Regions from separate parts of the Homo sapiens genome. Here regions 2, 3 and 4 are each linked to region 1. Evidence: promoter capture Hi-C in 16 types of primary human blood cells and fetal thymus (Javierre and others, 2016). All regions are on one chromosome and are shown on one strand. Each heading gives the region's core, a stretch centred on a gene start or on the middle of the fragment in contact. The rest is flanking DNA. Distances are from core to core; before and after follow the strand shown.

Region 1 (2,775 bases), core at 206-2,705:
TACAGACTTTATTGTTTGGGGCAGTTTTAAGTTCACAGCAAAATTGAGCAGGAAGTACAAGAGTTCCCGTGTGCCCTCTGATGCCACATACAGTCTCCCCCACCCTTAACAACCTGAACCAGAGTGGTACATTCGTTACCGCTGGTGAGCCTACATTGCACATTATTATCTCCCCAAATTTGTAGTTTACATTAGGATTTACTCTTGATGTTATACATGCTATGGGTTTTGACAAATGTGTTATGTATTTCTAAGTATAGTAGATAAGAATTGTTTCAATACCCTGCAAATTCTCCGTACTTCTCTTATTTCTTCATTTCTCCTTCTTCATTCAAACCCCTGGAAACCACTGAACGTTTAACTGTCTCCAGTTTTTTCTTAGTTTATTTCAAATAAAAGACATGCAACTTTTCCTTTTACTTGAACACTTAGAGGCTATTGCAAAGCTATTAATTGGCCTAAATCCAATATTGTTGTATCTCAAAGAATAGAGAGGCCTGAAGAGAAGGAGAGAGATGAGGGAAGAGTAGGTTGGTGGAGCCGTTAGAAACAACATTTATCAATTGTCTGCCATTCTACATGGGCACGGCTTGTGGTGCCCAAAAATAATGAAAATAGTAACATAAAAGATTACTGGTCACAGATCAAATAACGTGTAATAATAATAATAAAGTTTGAAATAAATATTTTGGGAATTACCAAAATGTGACACAGAGACATAAAGTGAGCACATGCTGTTGGAAAAATGGTGCCAATAGACTTGCTGGATCCAGGGTTGTCACAAACCCTCAGTTTATAAAACATTAAATAACTGCAAAGGACAATAAAGTGAAACACAATAAAAGAGGTATACATGTATATTAAAAAGAAAAATTATTTTAAATAAATTTATATACTTTCATCCATGTATAATTTGCTCCTGATTTGTGTGTGTGTGTGTGTGTGCTTTTTGTTTGTTTGTTTGCTTATTTAGTTTAGAACCATAGAAAAACCTTCATAAATTACTTCAGAGATGTAGAACAATGTAATTCTTCATTTTCTAAATCTTGTATTCCTTATATATTGGGATAACATAATCTCAAGAAGTGCAGGTACAGAATACTATAATAATAAAAGGCAAAATAAAAAGTAATTAATTAGTATCTAATCTTTATATGTGAACAAATGAGTAAGAAAGTCAAGATCCATTGATAAGAGTATGATTTTATGGAATAAACAATAGAAAATGGAACTTCTACTTCTTCAAATGATTTGTAATTACTGCAGAGTAATTGTTTCAAAGTGATATAATATTTAAGCTAATCTCTGTGTTGATATATTTAAAATTATATGATCTCATATCATCAACTATTATCACCAACTAATAGAAATAAGAAAATATTGGTGTTAACTGTGACTTATTTTTTAATTCTCTTTGTATATAAAGAACTTCTGGAACCTTTCTGAGTTGAGTAAATGGATCTTAAAAATGGATCTCTAGTGACCGAGTTTATTTTACTAGGATTTTTTGGACGATGGGAACTTCAAATTTTCTTCTTTGTGACATTTTCCCTGATCTACGGTGCTACTGTGATGGGAAACATTCTCATTATGGTCACAGTGACATGTAGGTCAACCCTTCATTCTCCCTTGTACTTTCTCCTTGGAAATCTCTCTTTTTTGGACATGTGTCTCTCCACTGCCACAACACCCAAGATGATCATAGATTTGCTCACTGACCACAAGACCATCTCTGTGTGGGGCTGCGTGACCCAGATGTTCTTCATGCACTTCTTTGGGGGTGCTGAGATGACTCTTCTGATAATCATGGCCTTTGACAGGTATGTAGCCATATGTAAACCCCTGCACTATAGGACAATCATGAGCCACAAGCTGCTAAAGGGGTTTGCGATACTTTCATGGATAATTGGTTTTTTACACTCCATAAGCCAGATAGTTTTAACAATGAACTTGCCTTTCTGTGGCCACAATGTCATAAACAACATATTTTGTGATCTTCCCCTTGTGATCAAGCTTGCTTGCATTGAAACATACACCCTGGAATTATTTGTCATTGCTGACAGCGGGCTGCTCTCTTTCACCTGTTTCATCCTCTTGCTTGTTTCTTACATTGTCATCCTGGTCAGTGTACCAAAAAAATCATCACATGGGCTCTCCAAGGCGCTGTCCACATTGTCTGCCCACATCATTGTGGTCACTCTGTTCTTTGGACCTTGTATTTTTATCTATGTTTGGCCATTCAGTAGTTTGGCAAGCAATAAAACTCTTGCCGTATTTTATACAGTTATCACACCCTTACTGAATCCGAGTATTTATACCCTGAGAAATAAGAAAATGCAAGAGGCCATAAGAAAATTACGGTTCCAATATGTTAGTTCTGCACAGAATTTCTAGATGTTAGCACTATATAATTAACTTTTAAATGCTACGATAAGATAGTTTGAATAGATTATGTATAATGCATCATTTCACTTTTCTTATGTTATAATAATAACGCATAAAGACAATACTAAATTACTTTAAATTTTACATTTAAGACTTTTATAAACATAAGGATAGAGATCTGCAGCAAAATAGACATAAAAATAGACATAAATAAACATAAAAAGATTATTGAGGATTTTTATCATATACATTCAATATATTCATTAATAAAGAAACAACTGTAAATGAATACATGAAGATATGAATATTATTAGAGGTTATTTTAATATATATTGATAATGTTATTCATAAATTTATACTATTATTAAATGAGGTATCATGAACAAGTCA
Region 2 (2,775 bases), core at 149-2,648, 330 kb before region 1:
TAATCAATTTGCCACCCATTGCTGGCTGGTTTTCTCAAAGATTGGTGCCATATTGAGGGCTTAGCATTGGTTTCTCATCGAGGCTGCATCTTCAGTGGCTCAGTGATTTGTCACCAACCTTGGTAAGATAATGCCTGTATTTTTTGGCTTGTGGATATTTTCCATTTATACAACTTTCTTTGTATTCCCTTTTATAAGCTCTGAGGTGAATGAAATCAGAGCTGACTGACATTTTTAGATGACTTATTCTTTTCACCTAGGTATTGAGTGCCTCCACTCTGGAGGATACTCTCTAATGGGCACAGAGTTGAGAAACAAAGATCTGCATACTTTGTGCTTATTCTCATAGGCCCATACATAGGCCTCCACCTCAAATTTCATTAAATCTGATTTTTCTGTATTTTGGGGGGGCTTTGCTTAGTGAAGTTTTTTTACAACAATCATTATTCTACACATATCCTTATCTTGCATAGCAAGCTATTTTTCCCAACATTCAAAGTGGACAACTAAGTATATTGCTACCAAATCATTGGTTTATGAGGATTTCCTCCACCACTACATTCTATGGCTACCCTGGAGAGGCGTTAAGCTGCAGCATTAGTCAGTTTTTATCTTGTCTAAGTGTAGATTCAGACAATCCATTTGTGAGCCAAGCCTGAGGCTGTTTCTTCCTTTATTAGCTGGTTGTGTGAAATACCATGAAGCCATAGGTATGAACTGAGGAAGAGATATTGTCACAATGAAGGCATGTTTGTATCTTACGGAAATGCTTTTTACTGTATCAAATAGTTTTCAATTCTTTCTATCAAGTGCCAGCAAGCTCAATATGAGATAGAATTTAATATTGGTAAGATAAGATTGGTTAATGATCAACTTGAAGATAATTACAAATATGGGCACTGTGCACATTTATAACAGTTGAGATTATATTTTATTAAGAATTTCTATCATTTTTTCTCATATAATTAAGAAATATAAACAAAACTGGCATGGACAGGTGAAACTCAGTGCTAAATTTATCAGCACTTTAAAGAGAGCCCACCGTTGAAGTCAGTTTGAACGAAGTTCTAAATTGTTTGTATTTTCTTCCTATATAAAAGAGTTTTTCAGGCAAGTATTTAGCTACTTAATTTACATTTCACATGCGAAGTATAATAAAACAACCACTCTTTTCCCCAGAACTCACATAAATCCTTCCTTTCAAACCCAGAAAATATTCTCAACTCAGCTTCCTTGTGACACAAAAACTAATTGCAGTAGCACCTCATTTTGTGGAGCAAATAGCTATGAAGTCTTACAAATTAAAATTCTGTAAACTACATTTCATATTGTGATTCCTTTTTATTAAGTTTTTGAGAGTTGTATTTGAAAAAATGGCATAGAACAAAAGTCAAAATTAAAGCAAGATATTAGTCAAATATTTTATAAAATGGATTTTAAGAGTTTTGTTTTAGTACTGTCCAGCAGTACTCAAATAAGTCACACAGTATTAATACTAAATTAGTTATGATATCAAATCCTGTGTTTAAAGTGGGTTTACAACAAAGCAAGCTATATCCTGAGTAATGCTCACCTTTTTGTTTAGGTCTTTGCTGCACTATATTCCAGGTAACAAATCTGCTTTAAATTCCTAATTCTTGGTTGTGTACTCTCTGAAAAAACACTGAATATCAAACTAAGGCTATTAGTCTATTTACATAATGTAAAGACCACTTGCTACATTTTGACAAGCTGGACTTCTTAAAACTTGGCTCTTTTTCAGCCAGTATCTCCTAGTGGATAATGATTGGATTATAGTGTTAATTGTGAGAGCAGTCTATGATATCTGTCACATGTGTTATCAATTGCTTTAGCTCAGTAATACAAAAAGGATGTCTGTATTCTTTTTGAAAAGTTGAATTACATATACAGGTTCTGATTTTACATACTTATTATTCACTTCAACAGAAAATCTAGTTCACTGTTGAAACATACTTAAATAAGACCACAGTAATGCAGATTGTGGTGAGTGGTATTTAAGATGTTAATGGCTCATTATTATAGCAGTTGTTAAATAAAACAATAAATTTGTAGACAAATATTCATGTATAATAAAGTTACATTTGATAAATGAAAATTGTCTCTTATTTATATTTTATTAACATCTTTTCCAGTCCTGAAGATTTTCCTCAGAGAATCTTTCATCTCTTTGCTCCTGAGACTATATATTAGAGGATTACAGAGTGGTGTTATCACAGAATAGAACAAGGTAATGATTTTTTGCATTTTTACTGGGTGTGCTGATCCAGGACTAACATACATCACCATGATAGAGCCATAAAACAAGGTGACAACTGCCAAATGAGAGGCACAAGTGGAGAAAGCCTTTCGTTTGCCAGCCTCTGAAGGCATCTGTATTACAGCCAGAATCACCAGAGCATAGGAACAAAGGATAAAGAGAAAGGTGCCAATCATGAAGATAGAATTGAATGTGGAGTAAATGAGCTAGGTGATGATTATGTCTGCAGAACAGGACAGCATCACCAATGGTACAGGATCACAAACAAAATGGTTGATAATATTTGGGCCACAGTAGGATATCTGTGAAATGAGAATCAACAGAATTAGGAAGATTACAAAGACACATGACCATGCAAAGATGATAAGGCCAGTGCATACTTGCTTATTCATAATGCATGGATAACGTAGAGGGCGGCAGATGGCAAGATACCTGTCAAAGGCCATGATGCAAAGGAAGAAGCCCTCATCATACCCCAAAGATAAGAAGAAGTAGAA
Region 3 (2,775 bases), core at 192-2,691, 310 kb before region 1:
ACACACTTCTGCCAGGGCCAGAACAAGGTCTTCTCTACCTGTGCTTCTCACCTGACAGTGGTCAGCCTGATCTTCGTGCCATGCGTATTCATCTATTTGAGGCCTTTCTGCAGCTTCTCTGTGGATAAGATATTCTCCTTGTTTTACACAGTGATTACACCTATGTTGAACCCCCTCATCTACACACTCAGAAATACTGATATGAAGACAGCTATGAAGAAGCTGAGGATAAAACCATGTGGCATTCCATTGCCTTGTTAAGGAATGAGCAGAAGAGGTGATTTGAAAAACACACTCTTTCTTGGAAGACTCTTAACTCATCTTGTACATGGGTAAAAACCACTTTGATGACGTTGGTATAAAAGAGGAGATAGCATAAAGATTATAATGGATCACTCTTGATTACAATTTAAAAGCATAGGTGGCACTCTAGAAAGCCACCTATGCCTTTTGACCATAATCAAGAGAACTCAGGAACTCAGTAGAATTTACTGGCCACAAACGATAACAAGCATTAATTGAAAGATCAACTTTTCTATCTTTATGTCTCTAAGTACTGTTCATTTATTCAATTTTTTCCACTTTTTAATCTATTCAAATGAAAGAAGATATATCTCTTTTTGTGTTCAGTTCCTCCAGCATTTAATGATTCCTAGTGTTAGGAAGTTCCTTCTGATGTCTCATCAGATCCTTTTCTGAAGTAGTGTGAATTTCTTTGTTCTGTTATAACAAAGCCTGAGAACAGTAACAACCACCTATGTGTAGTATTTACCTCAGAACTGTGTTCCACAGTGTCCCAAGTTTTAGAAATGTAGTCAGGCATCAGTCTAATGAACATATGCTCTTAACAAAGTTTATGCGTGAGAGAAAGGAAGTCCAGGAGTGCAGGGGTGATGGAAGCTGTTAGTATTCTGTTGTAGAGGCTTCTCAAGAAGAGGTACCTAGTTTCACACTGAGTTTTTCTTTGATTGGAATTACAGTGGGGGTGAATAGATAAGCTGGCTCTTCAACTGACCATAATGTTTAAGAGTTTTAACCTCTAAAGGAACAGAGGAAGAAATGAACTGTGATTGAAAGCACTCATTTTTGAGATGCTCACAGTTATTACCTCTGAGTCTCAAACATGCTTTGAGGAATAAATTTACTTAACTTCATTTTTGAGAATGAACTCAGAGTTAAGTGACTTGCCCATGACCACTTAGAAGAAATGCAATCAATCAAGAAAGCTCTTTGTAATCCCAGCACTTTGGGAGGCCAGGGCAGGCAGATCATCTGAAGTCAGGAGTTTGAGACCAGCTTGAGCAATATGGAGAAACCCCGTCTCTACTAAAAATACAAAATTAGCCGGACGTGGTGTTGCATGCCTGTAATCCCAGCTACTCAGGAAGGCTGAGGCAGGAGAATCACTTGAACCCAGGAGGCACAGGTTGCAGTGAGCTGACATCGCACCACTGCACTCCAGCCTGGGCAACAAAAGCAAAACTCGGTCTCAAAGCAAAAAAAAAAAAAAAAAAAAAAAAAAAAAAGAAAGCAAGCTAATAATTATATAATTAAGTTAATATTTTATTTCTCCTCAGAAAGAGTATTTATCCCAATTATACAGATTGCTTCTTTCTTTCTTTTTCTTTCTTTCTCTCTCTCTTTCTTCTTTCTCTCTTTTTCTCTTTTTCTTTCTCTTTCTTTCTTTCTCTCTCTTTCTCTCTATTTCTTAGAGTATTTATCCCAATTATACAGATTACTTCTTTCTTTCTTTCTTTCTTTCTTTCTTTCTTTCTTTCTTTCTTTCTTTCTTTCTTTCTTTTTTCTTTCTTTCTTTCTCTCTCTCTTTCTTCTTTTTTCTCTTTTTCTTTCTCTCTCTTTCTCTCTTTCTTTCTTTCTTCTTCTTTTTTTTTTGAGACAGAGTCTCACTCTTGTCTCCCAGGCTGGAGTGCAGTGGCACAATCTTGGCTCACTGCAACCTCCGCCTCCCAGGTTCAAGTGATCCTCTTGCCTCAGCCTCCCAAGTAGCTGGGATTACAGGTGCTGGCCACCATGCCTGGCTAATTTTTGTATTTTTAGTAAAGACGGGGTTTCTCCATGTTGGCCAGACTGGTCTTGAACTCCTGACCTCAGGTGATCTGCCTGCCTCAGCCTCTCAAAGTGCTGGGATTACAGGCATGAGCCACGACACCCGGCCAGATTACTTAATTTCTATAATACCTGTATAGGAGCTTCAGAGCTGGAAAATCCCTAAAAAGGTTAACTTAAGCATTTATATTTAAGATTATCCATCTCTGACATAGGATCCTTGCAATATTTTATGGCTATGAAAATGTGTTTATTCTATTTACTATATAATAAGATAATGACAAACTTTTACAATGTTTTTTATATTTTGTCACTTTATCTCCTAATGAATTGCCATAGAGAGGCTTTTATGATTACTTAGCTGAAAAATATACCTGTGAAAAAAATGTCTGAAACTCCATCTAATACTAGGATATACTGGAAAATTGCAATAACCCTGGTCGTGTAAGAGCTTTCTTGATATAGGGACAAAATATGTATTTTTATTTTTGTGTTGGGAGTTAATGACTTTATATTTAAGAAGCCATATATATGTATGTGTATATGTATATATTGCTATAGAAGGACTCCTCACAGACTAGGAACTAGGCTGCCATTTGGGAGATTTCTAAATAGTGTGGGTGAGGGTGAGAATGACATACCTGGAACATCATGTTCTTCTCTTTAGCTTCACTCTACTCAACATTTTCAGGGTTTTTTGCATACGAT
Region 4 (2,775 bases), core at 167-2,666, 290 kb before region 1:
TTGAGAAGAATGTGTGTTCTGCTGTTGGATTGAATATTCTGTGTATGTCTATTAGATTCATTTAGTCTGAAGTAGTTCAAGACAATGTTTTCTTAATAATATTCTTTCTGGATGATTTATCCATTGTTGAAAATTGGATATTAAAGTTCTCTATTAATATTGCATTGCAGTCTATCTCTTGCTTTAGATTTGTTAATATTTGCTTTATATATTTAGGTGCTCTGATGTTGGGTGTATTCATATTTATAACTGTTCTATTATCTCAATGAATTGACTTTCTTATCAATATCTAATGACCTTCTTTGTCTCTTGTGACAGTATTTAAAGTCTATTTTGTCTGATACACATGTAACTGCTACTGCTCTTTTTTGATTTTCATTTTCATGGAATATTTTTGTTTTTTACCCCTTTACTTTTAGTCTGTGTGTGTTATTAAAGGTGAAGTGAGTTTCTTGTAGGCAGCATTAAGTTGGATTTTATTTTTATAAATCAATTCAGCCACTCTTTGTCTTTTGATTAACAAAATTTGCTTATTTATAGTTGGTAAGTAAAGATTTATTATTGTCAATTTATTAATTGTTTTCTGGTTGCTTTGTAGATCCTTTATCCCTTTATTACTCCTTTGTTGTTTTCCTTTGTGATTTGATCATTTTATTTGGTGGTATGCTTTGATTCTTTTCTGTTTATCTTTTGTGTATTTACTATAGATTTTTAATTTGTGGTTGCCATGAGGCTTACATAAATATTCTTATTGTTTAACCAATTCATTTAAAGACGATAACATCTTAACTTTGATTGCTAAAGAAGCTCTGTACTTTTACTTCCCTTCTCTTACATTGTGCTTTTGATGTTACAGTTTACATTTTTTGTATGTCTTAAGAATTTATTATAGCTATAGTCATTTTGCATACATTCATCTTATAACTTTATAATGATGGTGTGATTCACACCACCACCATTATAGTGTTTGAATATTCTAAATTTAACCATATATATACTTTACCAGTTAGTTTTACATTTTTGTATGTTTTAATGTTACTAATTAGCTGCCTTTTATTTAATCTTAAAAATCCCCCTTTAGCATTTCTTGTAAGGCAAGCAATAGTGAAGACTCACTCAACTTTTTTTGTTTTTCTAAAAAAGTCTTTATCTTCTTCATTTCTGAAGGACAGCTTTGCTGGCAAAATATTGCTGGTTGGCAGTTTTATTTTTCTTCCATCACTTTGAATATATTATTTCATTCTCTCCTGATCCTCAAGGTTCCTGCTGAGAAATCCACTGATAGCTTTATTTGGGTCCTTTTTTATATGACATGATTCTTTTCTCTTGCTGCTTACAAGCTTCTCTGTTTTTGATTTTTGCCAGGCTGATGTTAACGTATGTTTGTGGATTCTTTTTTTGGTTGAATTGACTGGAGAACTTTAGGCTTCGTGCATGTGGATGCTCATTTCTTTCCGGATATTTGCTAAGTTTCCCATGATTATTTCCTTAAATAAGCTTTCTATCTAATGCTCTCTCTATTTTTCTTCTGAACCTACGATAATTCTAATGTTAGCTCTCTTGATAGTATTCCATGGCTTCTGTAGGTTTTATTCTTTTTTTTCTTTTATCTCCACTTACTGGATGATTTAAAATGCTCGGTCTTTGAGTTCACTTATTTTTTTATTCTGCTTCATTTAGTCTGATGTTCAAGCCTCTATTACATTTTTTTTTAGTTTAGCTGTTGTATTTTTCAGCTCCAACATTTCTGTTTGGTTCTTTTTAAAATATTTTCTCTCTTTATTGAGCTTCTCATTTTGTTCTTGGATTGTCTTCCTGATTTCATTAAACTATTTATTTGTGTTCTCTTGTAGTTCCCCAAGATTCCTTATGTAATTATTTTGATTTTTTCCAGGCAATTTATAGATCTCCAATTCTTTGGGGTTGGTTACTAGAAATTAATTTTGTTCCTTTGGTGGTGTCATGTTTTCCTGCTTCTTTGTGATCTTTGGGTGTTGATTTTGTCAGTGACTAAACCTGCTGGAGTCCTCTGTGGAGTTAAGTACTATAGTTTGCGCAGTGATCATTGTGGGTTCCTTGGTAGTGAAAGCAGTGTGGTATGTGCAGCTGATAATGGCAGGAGACAGACAGATTCCTAGGCAGACAGGTATAAGTCCCTGGTGAATCCCAACCTTCAAGCCAAAGACAACATGAAGCCTGAAAACCAAGCCACCAGTTCCAGGTGCAGTCCACGACCCAACTGAGAACTTCCTCAGTGCCTTTTAGTCAATTAAATGGTGCTTTTTCCAGGCCTGCCCATGAACCAGTCAGCACACATTCCTCCATTCTGAGCCCATAAAAACCCCAGACTCAGCCTCACAGATGGCTCTCTGCTTTCAGTCCCACTCTTACACAGAGGGCTACCCACTTTGGCTACTCTCTTGTTGTCATGAGTTTTTCTGCCGCTCAGTAAAAATCTCATCAGCCTTGCTCACTCTGCGGTGTCTATATGCTTCATTCCTGTTGGTTGTGGGACAAGAATCCGGAATCCACTGAACAGTGGGTGCGAAAAGAGTTGTAAGACACGCTCCTGTTCACCAAGCTACAGGAGTGAAAAAAAAAATGCTGGGTGCCACACGTCCCCAGTTGCTGAGCTGTGGGCAGCAGGACTGAATGAGCTGTGACATACCCCCATTTGCTGAAGCTGTCGGCAGTGAGAACGAACAAGAGCTGTAACACTTCCTGGGGGCTCAGACCTTGACTCCCAGAGGAAAAGCTGTAACACCTCTTTGGGCT

Evidence for each region. Contacts are between HindIII fragments. The CHiCAGO score rates a contact against its expected background, and 5 or more counts as called.
Region 2: a fragment that was not itself captured here is called in contact with the fragment with the promoter of OR4L1 in region 1 in 1 of 17 cell types (total CD4 T cells); the score reaches 5.6 in total CD4 T cells.
Region 3: a fragment that was not itself captured here is called in contact with the fragment with the promoter of OR4L1 in region 1 in 4 of 17 cell types (total CD4 T cells, M2 macrophages, neutrophils and 1 more); the score reaches 9.5 in total CD4 T cells.
Region 4: a contact is called between a fragment that was not itself captured here and the fragment with the promoter of OR4L1 in region 1, in 11 of 17 cell types (total CD4 T cells, non-activated CD4 T cells, activated CD4 T cells and 8 more). The highest score is 11.6, in total CD4 T cells.

Annotation. Positions count from the first base shown.
Region 1 is chr14:20,058,590-20,061,364 of GRCh38, forward strand. It overlaps OR4L1 (olfactory receptor family 4 subfamily L member 1), which reads left to right and starts at 1,456. Exons shown (of 1, transcript NM_001004717.1): 1 at 1,456-2,394. The coding sequence starts at 1,456. The coding sequence ends at 2,394. The HindIII fragment of the contact is 2,043 bases long and covers 1-2,011 here.
Region 2 is chr14:19,731,216-19,733,990 of GRCh38, forward strand. It overlaps the pseudogene OR11K2P. Among named protein-coding and RNA genes, the nearest start is that of OR4Q3, 11 kb to the right of the region's middle. The HindIII fragment of the contact is 7,271 bases long and covers 1-2,775 here.
Region 3 is chr14:19,748,109-19,750,883 of GRCh38, forward strand. OR4Q3 (olfactory receptor family 4 subfamily Q member 3) reads left to right here. Exons shown (of 2, transcript NM_001405963.1): 2 at 1-1,361. The coding sequence ends at 261. Among named protein-coding and RNA genes, the nearest start is that of OR4Q3, 5.9 kb to the left of the region's middle. The HindIII fragment of the contact is 6,740 bases long and covers 1-2,775 here.
Region 4 is chr14:19,768,784-19,771,558 of GRCh38, forward strand. No RefSeq gene overlaps it. Among named protein-coding and RNA genes, the nearest start is that of OR4M1, 3.3 kb to the right of the region's middle. The HindIII fragment of the contact is 157 bases long and covers 1,339-1,495 here.